Linked DNA regions of Homo sapiens: all the other regions are linked to region 1. Evidence: promoter capture Hi-C in 16 types of primary human blood cells and fetal thymus (Javierre and others, 2016). All regions are on one chromosome and are shown on one strand. Each heading gives the region's core, a stretch centred on a gene start or on the middle of the fragment in contact. The rest is flanking DNA. Distances are from core to core; before and after follow the strand shown.

Region 1 (3,499 bases), core at 473-2,972:
TACTAAAATTAAATAAATATATTTAAATGTAAATATAAATGTGTAAATATAAATGTTTCTCCTTTCAAGATGTTTCTATTGCCAGCCTTGATATAAGTCTTGCTGACACAATATAGCTCCTTTCAGCAGGCCAATATATAATACAGGTTGAATGTCCCTTATTTTGACATACTTGAAACCATAAGTGTTTCAGATTTTGGATTTTGGAAGATTTGCATTATACTTACTGGTTGAGCATCTCTAAACTGGAAGTCCAAAATCTGAAATGTTCCAGCGAACATTATCCTTAAATGTCATGTCTGTGCTCAGAAAGTTTCTAATTTTGGAACATTTGGGATTCAAGAGGGTTTGGAATTTCATAGTTTCCATTAGAGATACCCAACCTGTATCAACATAAGTACAGCAAGGGGCCTTCACATAACAAGCCTCATATTGGAGTCTAATAACCAGACTAATAACCTAGACTAACTGAAAAGGCAATTAGTCTTTACTGATATCTCCTGAAGCATGACAAAGCAAATTTCTTAAAATCTCTTTCCCATTCCTAGCTGTGGATCTCCACACCAGTGCCCCAAACAGCAGCCACCTCAACTCTACCTTCACTTAAGTGTAATTTAGCTTATACAGTTGTCCCTAAGTATCCCAGGGGGGATATTGGCTCCAGGATCCCTGCTGATACCAAAATCCATGAGTGCTAAAGATCCTTATATAAAATGGTGTAGTATTTGCATACAATCCATGCATATCCTCCGATATACTTTAAATCATCTCTAGATTACTTATAATACCTAATACAATGTAAATGCTGTATAAGCAGTTGTTAAACTGTATTACTTGTATTTTATTGTTGTACTTGATATTTCTTTTTTCCTCAAAATATTTCTATCCGCAGTTGGTTGAATCTTCACAGAGGGTGTGGGTGTTGGAGGGTGTGTCTGAGGAGATGCCCAGAAGAAATTTGCCATGCTAACGGTAGTGCCCAGTTTCAAGACAGTCTCTGCCCTTAAGGAGCTAAGGATCTGAAGATAAAATAATTACCCGTTGGGTGGTGTTATACAGATCCTGCATAAAATTAGGATTTCTGAGATGGGCGAGGTCAGCCTGGATGTGAGCCTAGAAGTGGGCATGAACCTGGATAATGAATTAACTCTCAATAAATATTTGTGGGGAGCTTCCTAGCGGGCCTCTTCCAGTCATTCTGTGTATGCGTTTTACATATGCATTTTTCTAGGGCAAGACTCCATTATTTTCAGAATATTCTCATTCCTTTATAGTCATGACTCCCTTTATTTGCGTAACATAAGGAAGGAGCAGATGTACGGTGGGCAGATGAAAGCTTTTCCAACATCACTAAGAGGTGGTTTCAGATCCTGAAGAGGTCTTTGAAGTCCCGGGAGACCTGGGTCCCAAGTGGTCTGACACTTCTCGTTTAACAGTCGCAGGGGTGGCGTGTGGTTCGGGGCACCTGCTCCTGGGCGCCTCCACCTGGCCTTAGCCTCCAGGCCAGGCCGGGTTCCTCCTACCCTTGCTGAGGCCATTTGCTGTCACTCCGCCCACTGCCCCTCTCTGCCTCCTCCCCACTCCTTTTCCTTCCGTGCGCCTCCATTTCTAACTACGCCTCCAGCCCATTCGGGCCCTCCTCGGCTTCCGTCCCAGATGATCCCTCCCCGAAGCTGCCACCGCCTCCTCCATCTCCCGGAGCTGGAGCCGCCTCCTCGGCCAGTGGCGTAGCCGAATCGGTGTCGCGGCCAGCCAGATAGGGGCGGAGGTCCGGAACCCAGTCTGGACCCGAGCGGGGGGCCATGGAGAAAGCGGCCCGAGGCGCTGTTTACACCGACTAGCGCGGGCCCGTTGCGGCTGCAGGCACCATGGACCGAGCCCCCACGGAGCAGGTACGCGGGTTTGGGCTGGGCCCGCCGAGCCGGGGGTTGGGGTCGCCGCTTCCTCACAGGCCAGGCCCAGTTCTCCGAACGTGGGGACCGGGGGCCGGTCCTGCGGCCGCAGACCCCCTCACCTGGGAGCCTGGCAGCTCCCAGCTCTCCTTCATTGTTCCAGCTGCTGCCTGGGACTTGGGGGCTTTTCCAACCCTGATTACTTCCCAGGCGGAGGGCTCGCCGTTGCCGCTTCTCCCCTGCTTGGTGAAGGGGTCAGAAGGCTCCAAGTTGTCCCTGCTCTCCTGGGAGGAGGGCTTATAACTTCTAGTAGTCTCCCCGCTTCCCCCATTCCCTTCAGCTCTGGAATGTGTTTTCAAGGTGGAAAGGCGTTTGAAGGCTTCTCACCCAGAAAGACTGTAAGAGAATGTGTGGTAACTACAGATGAAGGGAAGTCACGGGCCTTTTAGGTCTGTGTTCAATGGAGCGAAGCATTGTTTTTGCAGTGGTTTTACGGAGGTGTTTCTTTTAAGAAACGATACTACGATTTCCCCTTGTCCTTTTATCCAGTTATTTTGCAAAGAATTGTAATTAGTGGGTTTTTTTTTAAAGCTAGCTCTATTTTAAGGGTGTAAAGCATAAGCTTATTTTCGAACCCGTTTTCATATTCGCAAAGTAGTCCTATTAGTGTTCTGTTTTATTTTTATTTGCATCAAATTCCTGATTATGCATGCTAGTAGGTGGTAGCAGGCAGGGATGATAACAGTGTTAAAAGTAATCGAAAACAATAGTTTCCCCCCCAGTATTTTCCACTCTTAAGATCTCTGCGAAACGACTTAATTTGAAGTCCAAGTTTATTCACTCTCTATTCCCTTCTTCGAAGGCCTTGCCCATTGATGACTAGATGACGGAAGAAGAGAGGCTAGTAATTTCTGCCTATTAATTTTACAGTTGGATAATTAGCACCTGAATTAATGAGATAAGATTTCCCAAATTCCTGTATGTGTCTATATGTAGTTGAAGCCGGTTTGTATTTTGAAATCGGACTCTTAGCAGGCAAAGCACAGCTTCCTAGTTGTGTATACTTGTTTTTACAGAAGACTTTTTTTTTTAAAAAAAAGCTTTATGTGAATGTAACTCTGAAGACACAAATGAGTTTTATAAAACAATACATGGAATTACCAAAGAGAAATTGATACAGAGTCTCTTGGCAAATACACTTAGGCATTTATGTGACCCAGAAGTATTCTGTATACAGCCTGTATCTAGTTTAATTTAAAAACATTTTTGAAGGTATCTATCATAAATACCTGAGATTTCAAAGCCTGACAAATGAATACGAATTTTCCTTGAATCATTTCCTTGTATGTGTGTTACTAATGAAAGGGTTCAACATTTTGTTCCTTCACTAGGATGCCAGGACTAAAACCAGTAATGCTACCTTATGTATACTTAGAGTTCCTTTCATCCTAGAGGAAATATAATTAACTATTTAGATGGTAATTTTTAGCATAGCTGTTTGTGATTATCCTAGCAGCAAGTGCTGTGAGCAAATTATTTAAACTAGAGAGCCTTTTCCCCTTTCCACATCTTTCCAAAGTCCACGACCTATTAAAACCTTGTAGAAA
Region 2 (3,499 bases), core at 565-3,064, 1.9 Mb before region 1:
CTTATACTTGTCTTAAGCCCAAAACGAATGACTAATTCCTTGGGAAAAGGGAATGTGTTTAATTCTATTTTCCTGTGTCTAACACATAACCTTGTTCCATAAACATCTGTTGAACAAATAATGACATTAACACGTGCTCTTTTTAAGATATAAACTCCTTGTAGCTGTGAATCGGTATACTACACAATCCGTGCAACCATCGAGCGCCTGTGGGGGCCCGGCGCGGTGGCTCATGCCTGTAATCCCAGCACTTTGGGAGGCCGAAGTGAGCGAACACTTGAGGTCAGTTCAAGACCAGCCTGCCCAACATGGTGAAATCCTGTCTCTACTAAAAATACAAAAATTAGCCGGGCGTAGTGGCATACGCCTATAATCCCAGCTACTTGGGAGGCTGAGGCAGGAGAATCGCTTGAACCCGGGAGGCAGACGCTCCAGTGAGCCAAGATCGCACCATCGCACTCCAGCCTGGGCGACAGAGCGAGACTCCGTCATTAAAAATTTAAAAATTTTAAGGCCGGGCAGGGTAGCTCACGCACGTAATCCCAACACTTTGGGACGCCAAGGCGGGCGGATCGCGAGGTCAGGAGATCGAGACCATCCTCGCTAACACGGTGAAACCCCGTCTCTACGAAAAGTACAAAAAATTAGCCAGGCAGTGGCGGGCACTTGTAGTCCCAGCTACTCGGGAAGCTGAGGCAGGAGAATGGCGTGAACCCGGAAGGCGGAGCTTGTAGTGAGCCCAGATCGCGCCACTGCACTCCAGCCTGCGCGACAGAGCGAGACTCCGTCTCAAAAAAAAACAAAAATTAAAATTTTTAAAACCTTAAGGCTCCAGCGAGCCGAGATCGAGATCGCACCATTGCACTCCAGCCTGGGCGACAGAGAGAGACTCCGTCAATAAAAATTTAAAAATTTTAAAAGTTTAAGAATTTTTATAACTGCTCATTTTCAAAGCCCACTTGAGGCAGAGACTTAGCAAATTTTACATTTTGAGAGAACTGTGCTTTTTCTTTGCCCAACACGTTGTTGTAACCCAAGAACCTCAAGCTCCCCAAAGATATTCAACAAGAGGCTCACAGGATCTCTTCAGGTATGCGACATCTGAACTGTTGTTCAGTTGAAGGCACCGGGGGAGAGAAGGAAACTGAGTAGGGAAAAAAAACTTTGTGGAAGGTAAATAATGTCTGACACTTCCATCGCACTAGGTATTTTCACACGCTTGACATCTCACCCAATCCTCAAAACAAACAAAAAACCTATGAATTATGTATCAGTACTTTTCCACCACAACGTTGAGAAAACACACGGAGGCTCAGAGGTTACAGAGATGTGCCCCCGATCAAAGAGTCAGTGTCAGAACTAACTGTGGAAACTCGGCTTCCCTGCTGTCAGTCCCAGCAGGAAAGTGAAGCTTCCAGGCAGACGAAAGGACGAACCGACACAGCAGCCCCTGAGCCCCGCCGGAGGGCTAACCCCAGAGGCCCTGAAGTCTCGCCGCCCGGCCAGGGCCTCCTGGCGCGGGGGCCTCACTCCGATGTCCCTGAGCTCCCGGGCCGGCGGGCACCTACGTGCTTGGAGGTGAGGGCTGTGATGCCGCGGACAAGGCTGCCCAGCCTCGAGGAGAAGGACGCCTTGGCGGCCGCGGGCCCACCACCGGGCTGGTTCTGCAGAAAGAGTCCCGGCAGCGCCGTCAGCGTCTTCTCCACTATGTCGCTCATCGCCGCCGCCGCCCGCGATGCCGCCGCCGCCCGCGATCCCGTAGCCGCCCGGCTTCATGCCCGGCCGCCGCTGCCGGCCCGGCCTCCGTAGGCACTTCCTGTTTTTTGAATAAGAAATCTTTATTGGCGTCCCACCTGAACAAGTTCAGCGTCGTTCTCGCGAGAGGCCACCAGAGGGCGCAAGAGACCGCGGGGGTGGAAAAGGCCGCTCGCTCGAGATTGCGCGCGTAAGTAGACCTCCTTTCTCGCGACGGGGTAGCGGTTCCGGAATCCCCCAGAACCGTGAGTCCTCCTGAGGAAGCCGTCGGGGGCCTGGCCCTGTTAGGCACTGTCTCCCAGAGTCCCCCTTTCCCACTAGCCGCCTCCGCGTAGCCCGAGACCGCGTCAGGAGTTGCGTCTTCCTGGCTGCGCCTTTTTCGGGACGTCCCCGCGCCGTCCGCCGCCTCTCACTGTCCCCGGAGCGCGCGCCACCCGCCCGCTTCCCACAGGCGGTTTCACGCGGGTCCCCGGCGCCGCGCGCGGCTCCGGCCCTGGCGACTCTTGGGACACCCGAGTAGTTGCGTGATAGCGGGGCTGTCCTGAGGATTCGGCGTGCCAGGTTGAGAGCCCGTCGCGTGCCGGGGACTCGCGGCCACTGTCGCTTCCCGTCCGCCCCTCTTCTCCTGGGATTTGGGGAGGTGGGCGGGAAAGAGAACTGGTCGGCGGCCACCCTTGCCGACTCCTCCTCAGCAGGTCGCAGTTGAAAGGTCATCCTTCTAGAGCCCACTCCCCTGGCCCGGCGGGCAAGGATAGGTCTCCAAGTCCCACCCTCTCACAGCGCTCGGTTCTGTTCCACTTTAGAACAGGTCGCAGTTGCCACTACGTAAACAGCTCCCCATAGAGAGAGTATTTTATTCATTCCGATTGCTCCGTCTTTTATCTAGAACAGAGTCTGGTACAATGGCTCTCGAAATGTGGTCTGGTGACCTCAGGGTCGCTGAGACCCTTCTAGGGAATTCACAAAGTCAAAACAACATTGATAACGTTTCTTACGTGTTATTTGCCGTTTTTACCCTCATTCTGTTGGAAATGTACAGAGTTTTCAAGCGGCTAGATGACGATTGACTAGCTGGTAAAATGTATCCTGGAGTATCCTTGTGTTTTCTAGAATTTTCTAAGGTAGTAGGTTTAGGGCATAAATACGTGCGTTTTCAGAGATTAATGCAATTTGCTCTCAGTACTCCTAGTGTGTTTCTAGGAGGTAGGTTAGGTAGGTGGTGATAGCCTCCCTTCAAGGGGAACAAACTTGCTAAATAAATAGAACAAACCAGCCCATAGTGTACAAACCACATCCGAGGCTCCTGGTTAGAAAATTTTGCAGCAAAGAGGTACGAGAGCAGAAGGGAAAATCCCCAAACTCTCACAAGCGCAGAAACCCATGATCAGTGTCGTTGGGCTGAATTATACTCATTATAATAGTAAAAAAAAAAAAAAAAAAAAAACACCACTCCTGGGTGAAGATTTAAGATACTAATAAGACATGCAGTGTATGTACTAGCATATACAACCACAGCGCACATGGCGACAGAAAACCAGAGAACGTGCTTAATAGCAGCACCCGTTCTCCCCGCTTCATGAATGATCCTGTGAGACTCCTACAAAGGGAGTTTCCCCAGTGTCAGTGCATGCTGTCTCACCTTTGAGCAGCCCGCTCTGATCAGCTGTGAGGGTGTACTTTCGCTTTGCAATAAACTCTTTTGCTTGCTTTTACTTTGGACTTCAAAATTATTTTGCACCGCGAA
Region 3 (3,499 bases), core at 598-3,097, 1.8 Mb before region 1:
TATTTTTTTTTTTTTTTGAGACAGAGTCTCACTCTGTTGCCCAGGCTGGAGTGCAGTGGTGCGACCTTGGCTCACTGCAACCTCTGCCTCCCAGGTTCAAGCGATTCTCCTGCCTCTGCCTCAGCCTCCCAAGTAGCTGGGACTAAAGGCATGCGCCACCATGCCTGGCTAATTTTTGTATTTTTTGTACATATAGGGTTTCACCATGTTGGCCAGGCTGGTCTCAAACTCCTGACCTCGAGTAATCCACCCACCTCAGCCTCTCAAAGTGCTGGGATGACAGGCGTGAGCCACTGCGCCCATCCGATTCTGTGTACTTTTTAAAGCATGTTGCCTAAATGGGATTCAGTGTCCCCAGGTCTAGCATAAGCAGGTGCTTTGCACAGTCACCACTGCTCTGATATACTTTTTAAAAATTGCTTCCAAGTCTGGCTCCCCTCTAGACAGAGTGCCCCTTATGTGTTATCCATCTTTGTTTCCCCAGCACCCTACTCCAAGTAGAAACTCAGTGAATGATATCGTTAATAAATGAATGAAAGTATAACAACCCCATGAATTTCCTTTCATTTTACCTCTTGCCTTCTTTAACATCTCTGATTTTGTGACAGACTTGCACTTAACAAGGCTCTTTAACGACCTATTCCAAAGGGTTTTCTAACAAAAACAACAGTAATTTTTAAAAATACATTTTTGTGTTCTGGTTTATGTAACTTCATCTTATGCTCTTGGTATCCCTGTGAGGTAATCTAAGAATGTAAGGCTCTGCACAAGAGATGCCTGCACAAGGATGTAGGAGACGGACTTGCAAAGTGGTTCACTAAGGTATTCTCCGTTAGTAGGAGGTTTGCCAACCGAATTTCTTTCATTCCACATCTGCGATGAGGCAGGGTGAATTGGCAGATTTCCCCAATCCGAAAGGAAGCTGCAATTCCCAACTCAGTCACTAGATGGCTACGTAACTGCATCCAGAGGGGACAGACAAGGAAAACAACTCCGTCCCAGAACCAGAATCCACCCAGAACCAGAATCGTCCCAAAGTGGCAGTAAACCAAATTAGCCTTTTTTTGGGAGCTTTCTAGATGTAAAATGGTTAGGAGGTGCTGAGTATTCTGAAATACACCGTGAGGGCATTACACTGAAAATGCTACTCATTCTGTTCCTGGATAAGTTAAAAGAATAACCGTAATATTTTTATCCTCCATCTTGTGGCTTTTTTTTTTATCTTACTCTTTCCTCTCTTCGTTCTCCCTCATCCATCAGAATTCATAAGAAGGGGCACAAGGGCAAATTTCCTTCTTTTTTTTTTTGTTTTGTTTTGTTTTGTTTTGTTTTGTTTTGAGACGAAGTCTTGCTCTGTCGCCCAGGTTGGAGTGCAATGGCGCGATCAACCTCTGCTTCCCAGCTTCGAGCTATTCTCATGTCTCAGCCTCCCGAGTAGCTGGGATTACAGGCGTGTACCACCATGCCGGGCTAATTTTTGTATTTTTAGTAGAGAAGTGCTTTCACCATGTTAGTCAGGTTGGCCTCGAACTCCTGACGTGAGGTGATCCACCCGCCTCAGCCTCCCAAAGTGCTAGGATTACAGGCGTGAACCACCGCGCCCGGCCTAAGGGCAAATTTTTTATGATCCCATTACTGAAACACACTTAAAATGTATCAAGGGACAGTAAGTTTACAAGTTAATCAGTAGCTCTCCAGGTGGAATTTTTAAAGGAGACCAAGTTTACGGTTTTATGAAAGAAAACACCCTCACAAGTTTCAAGAACATTTGGAAACTTCTGTATCAGATCAGATAAAAATCCATACAAATAGGTATTCTTTCCTTGATAATTGCTGTAACATTATGTGTATATGACTCCAGATGTTTTTTTCTTTTTTATTTTTATTTTTTATTTTTTTGAGACGGTGTCGCCCAGGCTGGAGTGCAGTGATGCGATCTTGGCTCACTGCAACCTCTGCCACCCAGGTTCAAGTGATTCTCCTGCCTCAGCCTCCCGAGTAGCTGGGACTACAGGCACACACCACCACGCCCAGCTAATTTTTGTATTTTTAGTAGAGACAGGGTTTTACCATGTTGACCAGGATGGTCTTGATCTCTTGACCTTGTGATCCACCTGCCTCGGCCTTCCAAAGTGCTGGGATTACAGGATTGAGCCACCGCACCCAGTCCAGGTGTTTTTTTCAAAGTACATAGTAGCATACGTTTCTTTATAAAAATAAAAACTAGCATTTAGAAATAATCTTTACAATTTTATTATAAAAAGAACTATTGATCAAACTGAAGACTGAGCTCTGATTTTTTTATTTTGCCCAAATTCCTACCTAAGGAGTCTAGGAAGTCATGCACTACAAACCATAAATTCTCATCAAATGGGTTTTATTTGACCCTATATATCGTGACACACTTTTCATTCTAACTCTGGCATAACACTATGAGACAAGGAAAAAATATTTAACCCCAAAATATATTTCCTTGCCATACCTTGAAATTGCCCTGCAAAGTGTCTTGTGGGAAAAATCCACATTTCCCTTTTGTTTTCCTTTTCTTTCCAGATCCTGGAGATAATCAACTAAGAGCCAGGCACCCTTTTAGGTCTGATAAGAAACATTTTACAACCTGCTTTCTCTCTGAACTCTGCTATCTGAGAGATTCCTCTGCACTCTGCATAATAAAACCTGGTCTCTATGATCCTTTTTCTTTTCTTTTTTTTTTTTTTTTTTGAGACAGAGTTTCACTCTTGTTGCCCAGGCTGGAGTGCAATGGCACGATCTCAGCTGACCGCAACCTCCACCTCCTGGGTTCAAGCGATTCTCCTGCCTCAGCCTCCCGAGTAGCTGGGATTACAGGCATGTGCCACCACACCTGGCTAATTTTGTATTTTTAGTAGAGATGGGGTTTCTCCATGTTGGTCAGGCTGGTTGCAAACTCCCGACCTCAGGTGATCCGCCCACCTCAGCCTCCCAAAGTGCTGGGATTACAGGCGCAAGCCACCACGCCACAGCCTCTATGATCCTTTTTCTTAACTTGAACATTCCTTTGCATTAACCCCAGGTCTTCAGGTGAACTCAACCAATTGTCAACCAGAAAATGTTTAAATTTACTTATAGCCTGGAAACCCCCGCTTTGAGGTGTCCCACCTTTCGGAACCAAACCAATGTATTTCTTAAATGTATTTGATTGATGTCTCATGCCTCCCTAAAATATATAAAACCGAGCTGTACCCCGACCACCTGGGTCATATGTTCTCAGGACCTCCTAAGGGCTGTGTTATAGGCCATGGTAACTTATATATGGCTCAGAATAAATCTCTTCAAATATTTTACAGGGTTTGACTCTTTTCACCGACAATAATCTGGTGCCCAACATTGGGCCTCGGAGAAGACTCAGGACCCTGAAGGAGTTGCCCAAAACTGGAGCTAAGGTACCAGCAGGAGCCCATTGAAGCCTCACCGAATTCGAGCTTCTCCTTCGGTGGAACTGGGAAGTTCTCCTGAGCCC
Region 4 (3,499 bases), core at 689-3,188, 1.7 Mb before region 1:
GTGCTTTGTTGTACCTCACCATGGTAATCTCGGGTTCTATATTCCTCGGTTCTAGGGTTGTTGTGAAGATTAAGTAACATTTTTCTACACTGCAAATGTTTGGTGTGCATCTTATTATATGGGATGTAATGTCCTGATGACTGAATAAACTGACAATATCTGTTTAAATTGTAAGGATCTTTTTTCGATACCAGCTAGTATCACTGATTTTTCTATTTCTTGTTGATTTCTTTATGGATTTGTTTTCTTCTTGGTTCCTCCTTCCTTTAATTTCCTGAGATGTTCTTTCTCATTCCTTTCGTGTTCTGAGAACTTGGGTAGATCTGGTTTCCTTTTCCTCAGCTGGAGTTCTTTCTCCTTTCTGGATACCTAGTTCCTTTCCTCCAACTCTGTCTGAAGTCTTCTACCATTTTCTCCCTGAAGCCCTTTGTTTATTCCTCTTCCCTAATTTTACAGCTCTAGGTAGCCTTTCTGAGTTCCTTTGATTAGTGATGCCAGCTCAATCATTTCATTTCTCCTCTCTGGGCTCTTGAAACTGGCACTACTTGTCCGGGCGTGGTGGCTCACGCCTGTCATCCCAGCACTTTGAGAGGTCCAGGTGGGTGGATCACAAGGTCAGGAGTTTGAGACCAGCCTGGCCAATATGGTGAAACCCCGTCTCTACTAAAAAAAAATACAAAAAAAAAAAAATTAGCCGGGCGTGGTGGTGCGTGCCTGTTATCCCAGCTACTTGGGAGGCTGAGGCGGAAGAATTGCTTGAACCCGGGAGGCAGAGGTTGCAGTAAGCCAAGATCGTGCCACTGCACTCCAGCCTGTGTGACAGAGCGAGACTCCATCTCAAAAAAAAAAAAAAAGAAAAGAAAAAAAGAAACTGGCACTGCTTCCCCTTAGTCATGTAATAACAGGGCCAACATCCTCATCTATAATGGAAGCAGCACGTAGTCTTCAGAAACCACTGGCACATCCATCTAGAAGAGGCAGAGGATTTAGTATTGGAAAGGCCCTTAAAGATCATTTGCCTACCCTCCTCATCTTGTCATCTTCACATCAGAGTGACCTCACTGTGTATTTTGAACTGAAGCTACAGCACATCTGGCTGTTTTAATATTTTTTAAACCCATTAGGTCTAGAAATTAAATGAGCGCCTAGCAGGTAGTTAGCTGTGTCTTGACCTTGCCATAAGTACATTTTATTTTTTGGGTTTTTGTTTTTTTTTTTTTTTGAGATGGAGTCTTGCTCTGTCGTCCAGGCTGGAGTGCAGTGGTGCGATCTCAGCTCACTGCAGCCTCCACCTCCTGGGTTCAAGTGATTCTCCTGCCTCAGCCTCCCAAGTACCTGGGATTACAGGTGCCTGCCACCACACCTGGCTAATTTTTGTAATTTTAGTAGAGATGGGGTTTCACCATGTTGCCCAGGCTGGTCTCGAACTCCTGACCTCAGGTGATCTTCCTGCCTTGGCCTCCCAAAGTGCTGGGATTACAGACATGAGTCACCATGCCTGGCTGCCATAATTACATTTTGCACCTCTCCTTCCCCAGTTCAACCTCGACCCTGGGTCACAATGGTCAGAACTTTATTTCTCAGTGTGGACGCAGTCATGGGATTCTGTTTCAAAGACAATGGATATTGTTTATGCTGGCTCTCTTTTTTTTTTTGTTGAGATGGAGTCTTGCTCTGTAGCCTAGGCTGGATTGCAGTGGCCTTATCTCGGCTCACTGCAACCTCTGCCTCCTGGGTTCTAGCAATTCTCCTGCCTCAGTCTCCCGAGTAGGATTACAGGTGCACGTCGTGATGCCCGGCTAATTTTTTGTATTTTAGAAGAAACGGGGTTTCACTGTGTTGCCCAGGCTGGTCTTGAACTCCTGAGCTCAGGCAATCCACCCACCTCGGCCTCCCAAAGTGCTAGGATTACAGGCGTGAGCCACCGCTCTTGGCCCTGGCTCTTTTTATTTTATTTATTATTATTATTTTTTGAGATGGAGTTTCACTCTTGTTGCCCAGGCTGAAGTGCAATGGTGCGATCCCAGCTCATCACAACCTCTGCTTCCCGGGTACAAGCAATTCTCCTGCCTCAGCCTCCCCAGTGGCTGGGATTACAAGCATGCACCACCACGCCCAGCTAATTTTGTATTTTTAGTAGAGACGGGGGTTTCTCCACATTGGTCAGGCTACTCTCGAACTACTGACCTCAGGTGATCTGCCTGCCTCATCCTCCCAAAGTGTGGGGTTGCAGGTGTGAGCCACCGTGCCCGGCAGCTCTGTCTTTTTAAATTGCTTCAAAGTTCTTTGAAGAATCCTGAGTCTTCCTCATAGTGTCTTTAAAAGTTCTGTTTTGGAGGATTGCTTGAGGCTAGGAGTTTCAGACCAGCCTGGTCAACATAGCAAGACCCCACCTCTACAAAAAATTAAAAAATTAGCTGAGCATGGTGGCTTGTGTCTCTAGTCCCAGCTACGTGGGAGGCTGAGGTAGGAGGACCACTTAAGCTCAAGAGTTTGAGGTTGCAGTTAGCTATGATCACGCCACTGTACTCCAGCCTGGGTGACAGAGAAGACCATGTCTCTAAAAACACACACACACACACACACAAATGAAAAAATAGTTTTGTTGATTTTTTTTTCTTCAAAGAATTTGAAGTAGCATATAGCTGCATCTTGAGCTTGATACAATGAAATGATAATCAGGATCCCCAGCAGAAAAATCTGTTGCTGAAAATTTGCCTTCCTTTTGTATACTACACCAACTCAAAGATTCTTCAATTCTTTCTCTTCTGCTCTGTTCTCTCAACCTCCAAGGGAAAGTAGGTATGTTCTGCTACCCAGGCAGTAAGAAATCTGCTGAGCTGCTGTGCTGTGGAATGAATTGTGTCCCCCACACCCCCAACAGCCCCACCCCAAATTCATATGGTGAAGCCATAACCCCCAGTGTATTGATATTTGGAGATGGGTCCTTCAGGAAATCATTAGGTTTAGATGAGCTCATGAAGACGGGACCCTCATGATAGGATTAGTGCCATTTTAAGAAAAGACATCAGGCCAGGTGTGGTGGCTCATACTTGTAATCCCAGCACTTTGGGAGGCTGAGGCAGGCAGATCCTGAGGTCAGGAGTTCGAAACCAGCCTGGCCAACATGATGAAACCCCGTCTCTACTAAAAATACACAAATTAGCTGGGCACGGTGGTGGGTGCCTGTAACCCCAGCTACATGGGAGGCTGAGGCAGGAGAATCACTGGAACCCAGGAGGCAGAGGTTGCAGTGAGCCAAGATCGTGCCTTTGCACTCCAGCCTGGGCGACAGAGCAAGACTGTCTTGGGGGAAATAAAAAAAAAAAAAGACATCAGAGAGCTTTCTCTCTCTCTTTGCCATGTGAGGACACAGTGAGAAGGTAGCTATCTATAAGCCAGGAAGAGAGCCTTCACTAGATACTGGCCCAACTGGCACCTGATCCAGAACTGTGAGAAAATAAATTTCTGTTGTTTAAACCACCCAGTTTGTGGTACT
Region 5 (3,499 bases), core at 715-3,214, 1.4 Mb before region 1:
ACCATTATTGGTATGTTTCAGAATTTAGTGTAGTAGTCCCCCCTTATCCATGGTTTCGCTTTCCATGGTTTCAGCTACTTGCAGTCAACCACAGTCCAAGAATATTAAATAAAAAATTCCAGAAATAAACAATTCATAAGTTTTAAATTGTGCACCACCTCACTTCGCCCAGTCTGTGACATGAATCATCCCTTTGTCCAGTGTATCCACACTGTAGATGCTACCTGCCTGTTAATCACTAAGTGGCCGTCTCAGTTACCAGACTGACTATAGCAGTATTACAGTGCTTGTGTTCAAGTAACCCTCATTTTACTTAATCATGGCTTCAAAGTGTAAAAGCAGAGATTCACGTATGTCAAAAAGAAGTTGTAAACTGCTTCCTTTAAGCAAAAAGGTGAAAGTTCTCAACCTAATAAGAAAAAAAACCAAAAACCTCATGCTGAGGTTGCTAAGATCTATGGTAAGATCTTTTATCTGCAAAATTATGAAGGAAAAAGAAATTTGTGCTAGTTTTGCTGTCACACCTCAAGTTGCACAAGTTATGGCCACAGGGCATAACTTTTATTACACTATATTGTTGTAATTATTCTATTTTATTATTAGTTATTGTTGTTAATCTCTTGTTACTAATTTATAAGTTAAACTTTATCATAAAAATGTATATATAGGGAAAACATAGTATATATAGGGTTCAGTACTATCTGTGGTTTCAGGCATTCATTGGAGGTCTTGAAACATATCCCCTGCAGATAAGAGGAAGACTGCTGCATTATTAAAAACTAAATTGTAGGCCCGGCGTGGTAGCTAACGCCTGTAATCCCAGCACTTTGGGAGGCCGAGGCAGGTGGATTGCCTGAGCTCAGGAGTTCGTGACCAGCCTGGGCAACACAGTGAAACCCCATCTCTACTAAAACACAAAAAATTAGCTGGGCGTGGCGGCATATGCCTGTGATCCCAGCTACTTGGGAGGCTGAGGCAGGAGAATTGCTTGAACCCATCAGACGGAGGGTGCAGTGAGCCGAGATCATGCCACTGCATCCAGCCTAGGTGACAGAGCAAGACTCCCTCTCAAAAACAAACAAACAAAAAACTAAATTGTAATGTGTTAGTCAAAAGAGACAAGGCTTAGTTAACCCTTATTCACTATACATGAGAACTGTTTTACTTGAATTAGTATGGTATTAGTCAGGTGTGCTGGCGTGTGCCTGCAGTCCTAGCTACTTGGGAGGCTGAGGCAGGAGGATCACTTGAGCCCAGGAAGCAGAGGTTACAGTGAGCCAAGGTCATGCCACTGCACTCCAGCCTGGGTGACAGAGCAAGACCTTGTCTCAGTTTAAAAAAAAAAAGGGCCAGGTATGGTGGCTCACGGCTATAATCCCAGCACTTTGGGAGGCTGAGGCGGGCAGATCACCTGAGGTCAGGAGTTCAAGACCAGCCTGGCCAACATGGCAAAACCCCATCTCTACTAAAATACAAAAATTAGCCGGGCATGGTGGCAGGTGCCTATAGTCCCAGCTACTCGGGAGGCTGAAGCAGAATTGCTTAAACCCAGGAGGCGGACATTTCAGTGAGCCGAGAACTCACCACTGCACTCCAGCCTAGAAGACAGAGCAAGACTCCGTCTCAAAAAAAAAAAAAAAAAAAAAATTAGTACGGCTATAAATGTAGAATTCCAAATAAGTTTAATATAATATTTCATCATTCAGTACTAATAAATTTAATATTATGGAACTGTTGCAGGCCTTACTTTCCATTTATTAATCATATGACTTTGAACAAATTCCGTAAATCACTCCCAATACCACCACCACTCTTCAGTTTACTTTCATCTGCAAAATGAAATAGGAACTATTTGTCTGCTTCTATAGGGTGACCATAGGTATCAAGTGAAAAAATATACAAAAACATGCTTTGAAAACTGTAATATGCCATTACAACATAAAGTATTACGGTTAAAGAAATTGGAAATGGGTCAGGCGCGGTGGCTCACGCCTGTAATTCCAGCACTTTCGGAGGTTGAGGCAGGTGGATCACAGGTCAAGAGATCAAGATCATCCTGGCCAACATGGTGAAACCCCATCTCTACTAAAAATACAAAAATTAGCTGGGCTTGGTGACATGCTACTCGGGAGGCTGAGGCAGGAGAATGGCGTGAACCCAGGAGGCAGAGGTTGCAGTGAGCTGAGATCGTACACTGCACTCCAGGCTGACAACAGAGCAAGACTCCATCTCAAAAAAAAAAAAAGAAGAAGAAGAAAGAAAGAAACTGGAAATTGGAAGTGTACCTGATTCTTCATCTGCTATATAAATGCAAACAAGAGTCCAATACAACTTTGTCATCAAAATTATAGTAGGCAAAGCACGGCCACAAATTCTTTGACATTTTTCCTTTCAAAGGTGAGGGTTGTACGCTGGTCTTTGCTCTAACCAACAGAGTATGTTGGAAGTAATGTTGTGCGAATTTCTGGGCTCAGGCTTTTTGGGAGACTGGCAGCTTCTACTTCCTGACTCCTCAAACATGTATTCTCGGAACCTAGCCGCCATACTGTTCAAGTCACGTGAAGAGGCTATGTGTGGGCATTCCAGTTGACATTTCCAGCTGAACTCCTAGCCAACATCAAACGCCTTCACGTGAATTAGCCATTTTGGATGTCCAGACCAGCTGAGCTCTCGGTTGACTCCAAACTCAGCTGCTTATCTGAATACAAACGCATTAAACTCTAGGTGAAAACCACTTAGCTAAGTCCAGGCAGGCCAGAGAAACAGGAGAGATACTAAATTACAGTTTTAAGTCACTATGTTTTGGAGTGATTTGTTATGCAGCAATAGGTAACTGGGACAACAACAAGGTATTTTTTAAATGTTTCCTTAATTATATCTAATTTTATTAGCAACACATACCTGAAGACATTTTTTTCCTTTCACTTCCATAAATATGAGTGCATTTTCATGGAGAAAAGTTCGTAATATAGTGCTAGACTTATGAAAAAAATTTAATGTACTGGCTTTATTTTCCAACTGTCTTACCCAAAAGTCATTTTGATTATTTTCCATTATGTCCACGCTTTTTATTTTTTATTTTTTGAGACGGAGTTTTGCTCTTGTCACCCAGGCTGGAGTGCAATGACGCAATCTCGGCTCACTGCAACCTTCGCTTTCCAGGTTCAAGCGATTCTCCTGCCTCAGCCTCCAGAGTAGCTGGGACTACAGGCGTGCACCACCACGCCCAGCTAATTTTGTATTTTTAGTAGAGACCGGGTTTCGCCATGTTGGCCAGGCTGATCTCGAACTCCTGACCTCAGTGATCCGCCCACCTCCGCCTCCCAAAGTGCTAGGATTACAGATGTGAGCCACTGCGCCCAGCCACGTCCACATTAATAAACAAATGCCCATAAAGATTAAAGTCCAAGTAAATATATTAAAAAACGAAATGCTAAAAAAGGCACCTTTAAAACATTTTTGTTAGTTTTTCTTATACATTGTTTTCTTAAAAAAACAG
Region 6 (3,499 bases), core at 622-3,121, 1.3 Mb before region 1:
AGCAATTCTCCTGTCTCAGCCTCCCGAGTAGTTGTGATTACAGGTACGTGCCACTACGTCTGGCTAATTTTTATATTTTTAGTAGAGACAGGGTTTTGTCATGTTGGCCAGGCTGGTCTTGAACTTCTGACCTCAAGTGATCTGCCTGCCTGGGCCTCCTAAAGTGCTTGGATTACAGGTGTTAGCCACTGCCTGGCCTCTACCCATTTTTTTATTGGATGTCTTCTTTTTTATTGATTTGTGGGAGTCTACAAATTCAAGATAGCAGCAAAGAGATGTATTTCTATTGTAGACATGAATGCATTTGGCTGGGTGTGGTGGATTACATCTGTAATCCCAGCACTTTGGGAGGCTGAGGTGGGAGGATCACTTGAGCTCAGGAGTTTGAGAATAGCCTGGGCAACGTGGCAAAACACAGTCTCTACAAAACATACAAAAATGAGCTGGGCGTGGTGGTGTGCACCTGTAGTCCCAGCTACTCAGGAGGCTGAGGTGGGAGGATCGCTTGAGCCCAGGTTGAGGCTGCAGTGAGCTGAGATCACATCACGGCCTTCCAGCCTGCATGGGCGACAAGGTGAGACCTTATTCCCTCCACCTCCCCAAAAGATGAAATGAATTCATTTGTTTGATGCTATTAGAATACCAGTAACTCCCCTTACTTTGGCCCCAAATTCACAAATGAACCCTCCAAAAGGTAATGCAGTTAACTTCATGCATTCTCTTTAAACAATGTACTGAGTCTTTATGCCAGGGAATTTGGAATTAACAGATACAGTACAGGTCTCTCATTTCAAAGTAGTATTCCTAATCATGAAGGAAATGAGAGACCTGTACTGGAATCCTGTCTTTAACACCTTTGAGGATGGTGAATTTAGGTAAGTTATTCAACCTATTTTAGCCTCGGTTTCTTCATTGGAAAAATGGGGCAAACAATACTTATTTTACAGAGTTGTGAGGATTAAATGAGACAATATATATAATATGCTTTGCACAGTGGCTGGCATACAGGAAACGTTTAATATATGGTAGCTACTATAAACTCGGTTATTTCCGTGTAGCTTTCCATGTCTACATGGAGGGAGAAAATGAGCAGATGTCCATTATAATTTAGCTATTACAGTTTTCACTCTAAAGTAAAAAAGGCATTTAGATTTATATGTCTTCTGGGAGTTTGGTTCTTCTGACTCCCTTCATCTGTGAGACCATAGGTACTTTTATGTAATATGATAAAAATTATTAGAAAAAGAAAAAAACGGCCGGGTGCAGTGGCTCACACCTGTAATCCCAGCGCTTTGGGAGGCCAAGGCAGGTAGATCACCTGAGGTTGGGAGTTCGAGACCAGCCTGACCAACATGGAGAAACCCGTCTCTACTAAAAATACAAAATTAGCAGGGTATGGTGGTGCATGCTTGTAATCCCAGCTACTTGGGAGGCTGAGGTAGGAGTATCGCTTCAACTCAGGAGGCAGAGGTTGCGGTGAGCCAAGATCGCACCATTGCACTCCAGCCTGGGCAATAAGAGCGAAACTCTGTCTCAAAAAAGAAAAAAATAAACTAAAAAGGAAAAAAGGGCCGGGCACGGTGGCTTACGCCTGTAATCCCAGCACTTTGGGAGGCTGAGGCAGGCGGATCACAAGGTCAGGCAATGAAGACCATCCTGGCCAACATGGTGAAACCCCGTCTCTACTGAAAATACAAAAATTAGCTGGATGTGGTGGTGCACACCTGTAATCCCAGCTATTTGGGAGGCTGAGGCAGGAGAATCGCTTGAACCCAGGAGGCAGAGGTTGCAGTGAGCCGAGACTGCACCACTGCACTCCAGCCTGGCGACAGAAAAAGACTCCCATCTCGAACACAAAAAACAAACAAAAAAAGGGAAATAAAGAATATGCAAAGTACAATCCCTCAAATTTTTATTAGACCCACAGAAATAAAATTAGTCTGTTAAACTGCTATAAGTTTCTAAATTCTTACTTTCTGTAAATGCCTTGACATGGATGTGTAACAAAGGGCTTACAGACTGGCACTGCCTTGTGGACCACACTTTTGGTGAGACTGCTCTAGAGCGCTGACAAAAATCAGACTTTGAATCCACAGGGCTGAAGTCAAAGCAACTGAAGGGTGTCCTGACTCACCAGCTGGCCACCTAGTGGCCTCCTTCTAGTCATAAGCACAACCTTGTGTCACTCCTTAGTTCAAAAACCATCCATTATTCTGCCTGACTCAAGGGTAAAATCTCAGTCCTTTAATCTGACATCCAAGGCCTTCCAGAGCTGGTTCTAAACAACTTTTTAAGTCTGACTTTCCACTATCCTCTACTTCACTAGACTGCATTGTCCAATATGGTAATAACTTGTCCCACTTGAAATGCAGAAGTGAAATGAGGCTAATTTAGGAACTGAATTCATAATCCTAACTTTAATTTAAAATAAAATTTAAAAATATACACGATTCGATTACCGTAAAACTTTTAAGTATGCTTGGAACGACTTGGGTACGTGAATCTATTTTTTCAGCTGGAAATTTTATGAAATCAAGTACTGAGATATGCTATAAGTATAAAATACACACCAGATTTCAAATGCTTAGTTATGAGAAAGATAATGTAAAATATTTTTAATATTTAGTAATTTTTTATGTTGATCACATGTGAAATAATATTTGGATATGCTAGGGGTTAAAAGTGTAATTAAAATTAATTCCACCTAGACAACATGCCCCAAACCTAGGCATCACTATTGATTCCTCCCTTTCCTCATTTAATTGGTAAGCAAGATAGGTCAGCTTTTTGGATCCATCCACTTCCCTCATCTCTACTGCTACTATCCTAGTCCATGATACTCCATTTCTTTTTTTTTTTTTTTTTTTTTTGAGACGGAGTCTCGCTCTGTCGCCCAGGCTGGAGTGCAGTGGCACGATCTCGGCTCACTGCAAGCCCTGCCTCCTGGGTTCACGCCATTATCCTGCCTCAGCCTCCCGAGTAGCTGGGACTACAGGCGCCCGCCACCACGCCTGGCTAATTTTTAAAAAAATTTTTTATTTTGAATAGAGACGGGGTTTCACCATGTTAGCCAGGATGGTCTCCATCTCCTGACCTCTTGATCCTCCCACCTCGGCCTCCCAAAGTGCTGGGATTACAGGCGTGAGCCACCGCGCCCGGCCAGATACTCCATTTCTTAAATCCTTCAATGGCTTCCAGTGCACTTCACCTTCTTATTGAGGCTGAAGACTTCACCTCCTATCATTCCTTCTTTTGGTCACTAGATTTCGGATACACTGACCTTGCTATTCCCTAAACACAACAAATTTTTCACCTTAGGGCCTTTGCCCAGCTATTCCCTTTGGTCTCACACTGTTCTTGTCCTTTCTAATACCTTCTCAGTGAGGCCATCTCTGATCAACCAACCACCAAAAGTTTGCTCTCTTTTCCCCAGAGTAACACTTTATCCAATCAGCTTTTAATTTTCCTCACAAACTCTTTTTTTTTGAGGCGGAGTCTC
Region 7 (3,499 bases), core at 541-3,040, 1.3 Mb before region 1:
CGCCTGGCTAGATGACTTTTCAGCAGCAACAGTGGAAATCAGCAGACAGTGAAATGTCTACTATATGGAATGAAAACTACCTGTCAATCTAGAATTTTATGCCCAGTGAAAATATATTTAAAGAATGATGGTAAAATAAGGATATTTTCAGATAAAAACAACTTGTCACGAACATCTCACCTATGAAAGATCATTTAAAGCAGCAGTGTTCAATGGAAGTTTCTGTGGAATTGGGAATGTTATTTATTTTTTTCTTGAGACAGGTCTCACTCTGTCACCCAGGCTGGAGTGTGGTGCAATCATGGCTCACTGAGCTAAAAATAATATATTTATGGATGAAGTAATGTGATAATATAATGATAATGTGATCACTCAGGCAATCCTCCCACCTCAGCCTCCTGAGTACCTGGGACCACAGATGCACACAACCTCGACCTGTCTAATTTTTAAAATTATTTGTAGAGACGAGGTCTCGCTGTGTTGCTCAGGCTCAAACTCCTGTGCTCAAGTGATTCTCCCACCTCAGTCCTACAGACTGCTGGGATTGTAGGTGTGAGCCACCATGTTTGGCCTGGAAATGTTCTTTTTCTGTGCTGTCCAATATTGTAGTCATAAGCTACATAGGGCTATTGAGTACTTGAAAATTCAATAAACTGAATTTTTAAGTTTATTGGCTTAATAAGTTATTAAGTTATTAATAAGTTATTAAGCCAATAAACTTAATTTTTATTAAATATCCACATGCACCATATTGGACAGTATGTTTTTAAAGGATATACTTAGGACAGGATGAAATTGATCTCAAATCACAAAATGAAATGTATGAAGAGTAAATTAAAGGTAAAGAAAATGATACATATTTAGAGAATGAAAATGAATATGGATTGCATTAAACATAGTAAAAATGTCTAATGGATTAAAAACAAGGGTATAACAAGTAGGATAGGTAGAGTCTAGGATTTAAGGTCCTTGTCTTACCTAGAAGGATAGTAATTTAAAAAAAACCTCTTATGGAAAATTTTAAATATGTAAAAGAGAAGAGTATAATGAATCCTTATGTATTTATTACCCACCTTCAACAGTTATGAATTCATGACTAAAGTGTTTTTATATATATCCCAAGTATTTTAAAGTAAGTCCTAACAATCACATTATTTAACCCATAAATATATTGTTCTTATAAAAGATATGGGCTTAAAGTATAATACCAGTATCATATACAGAAAAAAATCAATAATTTCTTAGCATTATGTAGTTAGTATTCACATTTTCCCAATTATCTAAAAAAAGATTTAAAAAATTATATTTGGTTTCTTCAAACTGGAATCCAAACAGGGTCTACATATTGCATTTTGTTGATGTGTTGCTTATGTCTTTTAAAATCTATAGATTTTTTGGGAAAAGAGAGAATAAAGATTTTGATTAGACTTTACTGCATGGTATAATTTCTAGAAAACCAACAAAAGAACAGAAACAGAGGGTATAACTTCCAAATCAGTAGAGGAAATAAATAGAATGCTAAAAAGAATTGAGGGGAAAGAAGGCAGCAACAACAAAGGAGAGAAAAGAAACTGGACAGGGGGCTGGGCACGGTGGCTCATACCTATAATCTCAGCACTTTGGGAGGCCGAGGCAGGTGGATTGCTTGAGGTCAGGAGTTCGAGACCAGCATGATCAACATGGTGAAACCCCGTCTCTACTAAAAATACAAAAATCAGCAGAGTGTGATGGTGCATGCCTGTAATCCCAGCTACTTGGGAGACTGAGACGGGAGAATCGCTTGAACCCAGGAGGTGGAGGTTGCAGTGAGCAGAGATCATGCAACTGCACTCCAGCCTGGGCGACAGAGCGAGACTCTATTTCAAAAAAAACAAAAAACAAAAAACAAAAAAAAAAACTGAACGGGACAAATGGAAAGCATAAAATATGATGTTAGATTTAACTTAAATATATAGCAATTAAAGGTAAATTGTCTAATAACCACACAGGTATCATCCAGGCCTGAGGTGCCAGCAGCTCTTGCCTGGAATAATTTTCTAACTAGTACGCTTGTTTCAGTTCTTGCTTTCCACTATGTATTAACCAAATGATAACAGGAGTAGCCTCTTAACAATGTAAATCACATCACAACACTCTCCTGTTTAAAACTTTCTGACAACTTGCTAGTAATCTCAATAAAATTCACTCTTTCTAGTGCCTATAAGGTTCTATGTGATCCAGCCCATTTGTATTTCTATGATTGCATTTCCTGTTATACTTCTTCACTGTAGCTCAGGGCGCTTAACATATGCTGTTCCATTTCCCTGGATCACCAGGGTCAGCCAGAATTCTTAGTTCTAAGTAGTCAAATAATCTCTGGTTAATTTAACAGAAAAGGAATTTATCACAGGAGGAAGCTGCTACCACTACTGTTATTGGAATCTGCTGCCACGTTTGCCACTAAGGGTTCTACACACTCTCGGCTTTTTAAATGCACTATCTTCTACATTAAGGTCCAGCACAGATGCTTCTCTTGTGGAGTGGAGGTCATATGACTGTACCCTTGCCTTATGGGAAGCAAGGAAAGCAAATATTCAGTAGTAGGCAGAGGTTTCTGCCTTCTTTCAAGATGCATATGGAAGGGAATTCCCCAAGGACAAGAAGGTGTTTTGATGCTAAGCAACCAAGAGAATGACTTGTGCATCATGATGCTTCCTTTGGATCCTCCCTAGGTTTGCTTTCCCTTTCATTCCTGTTTCTACTCAGTTGTCACCTCCTCAGAGAGGCCTTTTGTAATCACTTTCTCCAAAATGGCAATTCCCTATCCCTAATCTAGTACTCTGTTTCTTACTCTGCCTTACTTTTTCTTCATACCGTTTATCACTGCCACAACCACCACTACTACTACTACTTATTTACTTCTTTATTGTGAAGTTCTTATCCCAGAACATAAGCTCTTTGCTCTTCATTTACTCAGTAAACATTTGTTTGTTGAATGAAGAGAAACATAGAGATTATGCTATATATTGCTGAGGAAATTTAAGAGCTCATCTTAGAAAGTTTTGTTGGAGAAAAGATCTTTTAAAAATGGGCTTTGATTGAAGTATAGCATTTGGAGAGAAAGGATGTAACCATTCTAAACTGGGAAAATAGCATGAGGGGAGACATTGGGTCTGGAATAAGGTAAGTGTGTATGGGATGAGGAAGGAGAATTGGGTCTGGAATAAGGTAAGTGTGTATGAGATGAGGAAGGAGAATTGTTTAAAATCGGATGACTGTCAGGGCCCTATATTCAGAGAAAAATGGATGAAGTAAATGTGTGAGGCAGTTGATAGAGGGACTCAAATTGCAAGGTGAGATCTTGTGATTGCTAGAGTAAGAGATAACTAGTTTTTTTTTAATTAAAAGTATACAATGGTATTTTCACATAGCCGAGTACTATGCAGCTGTAAAACAGAATGAGAAAAATCTCTATGCAGTATTTTCCAGGATATATATTAAATGGGAAAAAAAGCAAAGT

The links. Contacts are between HindIII fragments. The CHiCAGO score rates a contact against its expected background, and 5 or more counts as called.
Region 2: the fragment with the promoter of AP4E1 here is called in contact with the fragment with the promoter of SECISBP2L in region 1 in 4 of 17 cell types (total B cells, naive CD8 T cells, fetal thymus and 1 more); the score reaches 8.8 in total B cells.
Region 3: a fragment that was not itself captured here is called in contact with the fragment with the promoter of SECISBP2L in region 1 in 1 of 17 cell types (total CD4 T cells); the score reaches 5.2 in total CD4 T cells.
Region 4: a fragment that was not itself captured here is called in contact with the fragment with the promoter of SECISBP2L in region 1 in 1 of 17 cell types (total B cells); the score reaches 7.9 in total B cells.
Region 5: a contact is called between a fragment that was not itself captured here and the fragment with the promoter of SECISBP2L in region 1, in 7 of 17 cell types (naive CD8 T cells, total CD8 T cells, total CD4 T cells and 4 more). The highest score is 10.8, in naive CD8 T cells.
Region 6: a fragment that was not itself captured here is called in contact with the fragment with the promoter of SECISBP2L in region 1 in 5 of 17 cell types (naive CD8 T cells, total CD8 T cells, non-activated CD4 T cells and 2 more); the score reaches 9.8 in naive CD8 T cells.
Region 7: a contact is called between a fragment that was not itself captured here and the fragment with the promoter of SECISBP2L in region 1, in 1 of 17 cell types (total B cells). The highest score is 6.0, in total B cells.

What each region holds. Positions count from the first base shown.
Region 1 is chr15:49,044,669-49,048,167 of GRCh38, reverse strand. SECISBP2L (SECIS binding protein 2 like) reads left to right here and starts at 1,722. Exons shown (of 18, transcript NM_001193489.2): 1 at 1,722-1,892. The coding sequence starts at 1,869. RefSeq lists enhancers at 1,256-1,385, 1,486-1,835, 2,126-2,265. The HindIII fragment of the contact is 1,178 bases long and covers 1,339-2,516 here.
Region 2 is chr15:50,906,998-50,910,496 of GRCh38, reverse strand. AP4E1 (adaptor related protein complex 4 subunit epsilon 1) reads right to left here and starts at 1,814. Exons shown (of 21, transcript NM_007347.5): 1 at 1,569-1,814. The coding sequence starts at 1,718. RefSeq lists enhancers at 738-1,479, 1,526-1,695, 1,716-2,005, 1,480-2,221. The HindIII fragment of the contact is 3,809 bases long and covers 1,414-3,499 here.
Region 3 is chr15:50,874,554-50,878,052 of GRCh38, reverse strand. No RefSeq gene overlaps it. Among named protein-coding and RNA genes, the nearest start is that of AP4E1, 32 kb to the left of the region's middle. The HindIII fragment of the contact is 5,142 bases long and covers 1-3,499 here.
Region 4 is chr15:50,760,091-50,763,589 of GRCh38, reverse strand. The region is part of intron 1 of SPPL2A (signal peptide peptidase like 2A); the gene reads left to right. Among named protein-coding and RNA genes, the nearest start is that of SPPL2A, 3.9 kb to the left of the region's middle. The HindIII fragment of the contact is 5,841 bases long and covers 1-3,499 here.
Region 5 is chr15:50,425,707-50,429,205 of GRCh38, reverse strand. The region is part of intron 1 of USP8 (ubiquitin specific peptidase 8); the gene reads right to left. Among named protein-coding and RNA genes, the nearest start is that of USP8, 3.1 kb to the right of the region's middle. The HindIII fragment of the contact is 4,576 bases long and covers 1-3,499 here.
Region 6 is chr15:50,357,676-50,361,174 of GRCh38, reverse strand. GABPB1-AS1 (GABPB1 antisense RNA 1) reads right to left here. Exons shown (of 1, transcript NR_024490.1): 1 at 2,863-3,499. It overlaps MIR4712 (microRNA 4712), which reads right to left and starts at 846; the gene lies at 765-846. The HindIII fragment of the contact is 6,184 bases long and covers 1-3,499 here.
Region 7 is chr15:50,330,257-50,333,755 of GRCh38, reverse strand. All of the region lies in intron 1 of GABPB1 (GA binding protein transcription factor subunit beta 1), which reads left to right. Among named protein-coding and RNA genes, the nearest start is that of GABPB1-AS1, 22 kb to the left of the region's middle. The HindIII fragment of the contact is 5,779 bases long and covers 1-3,499 here.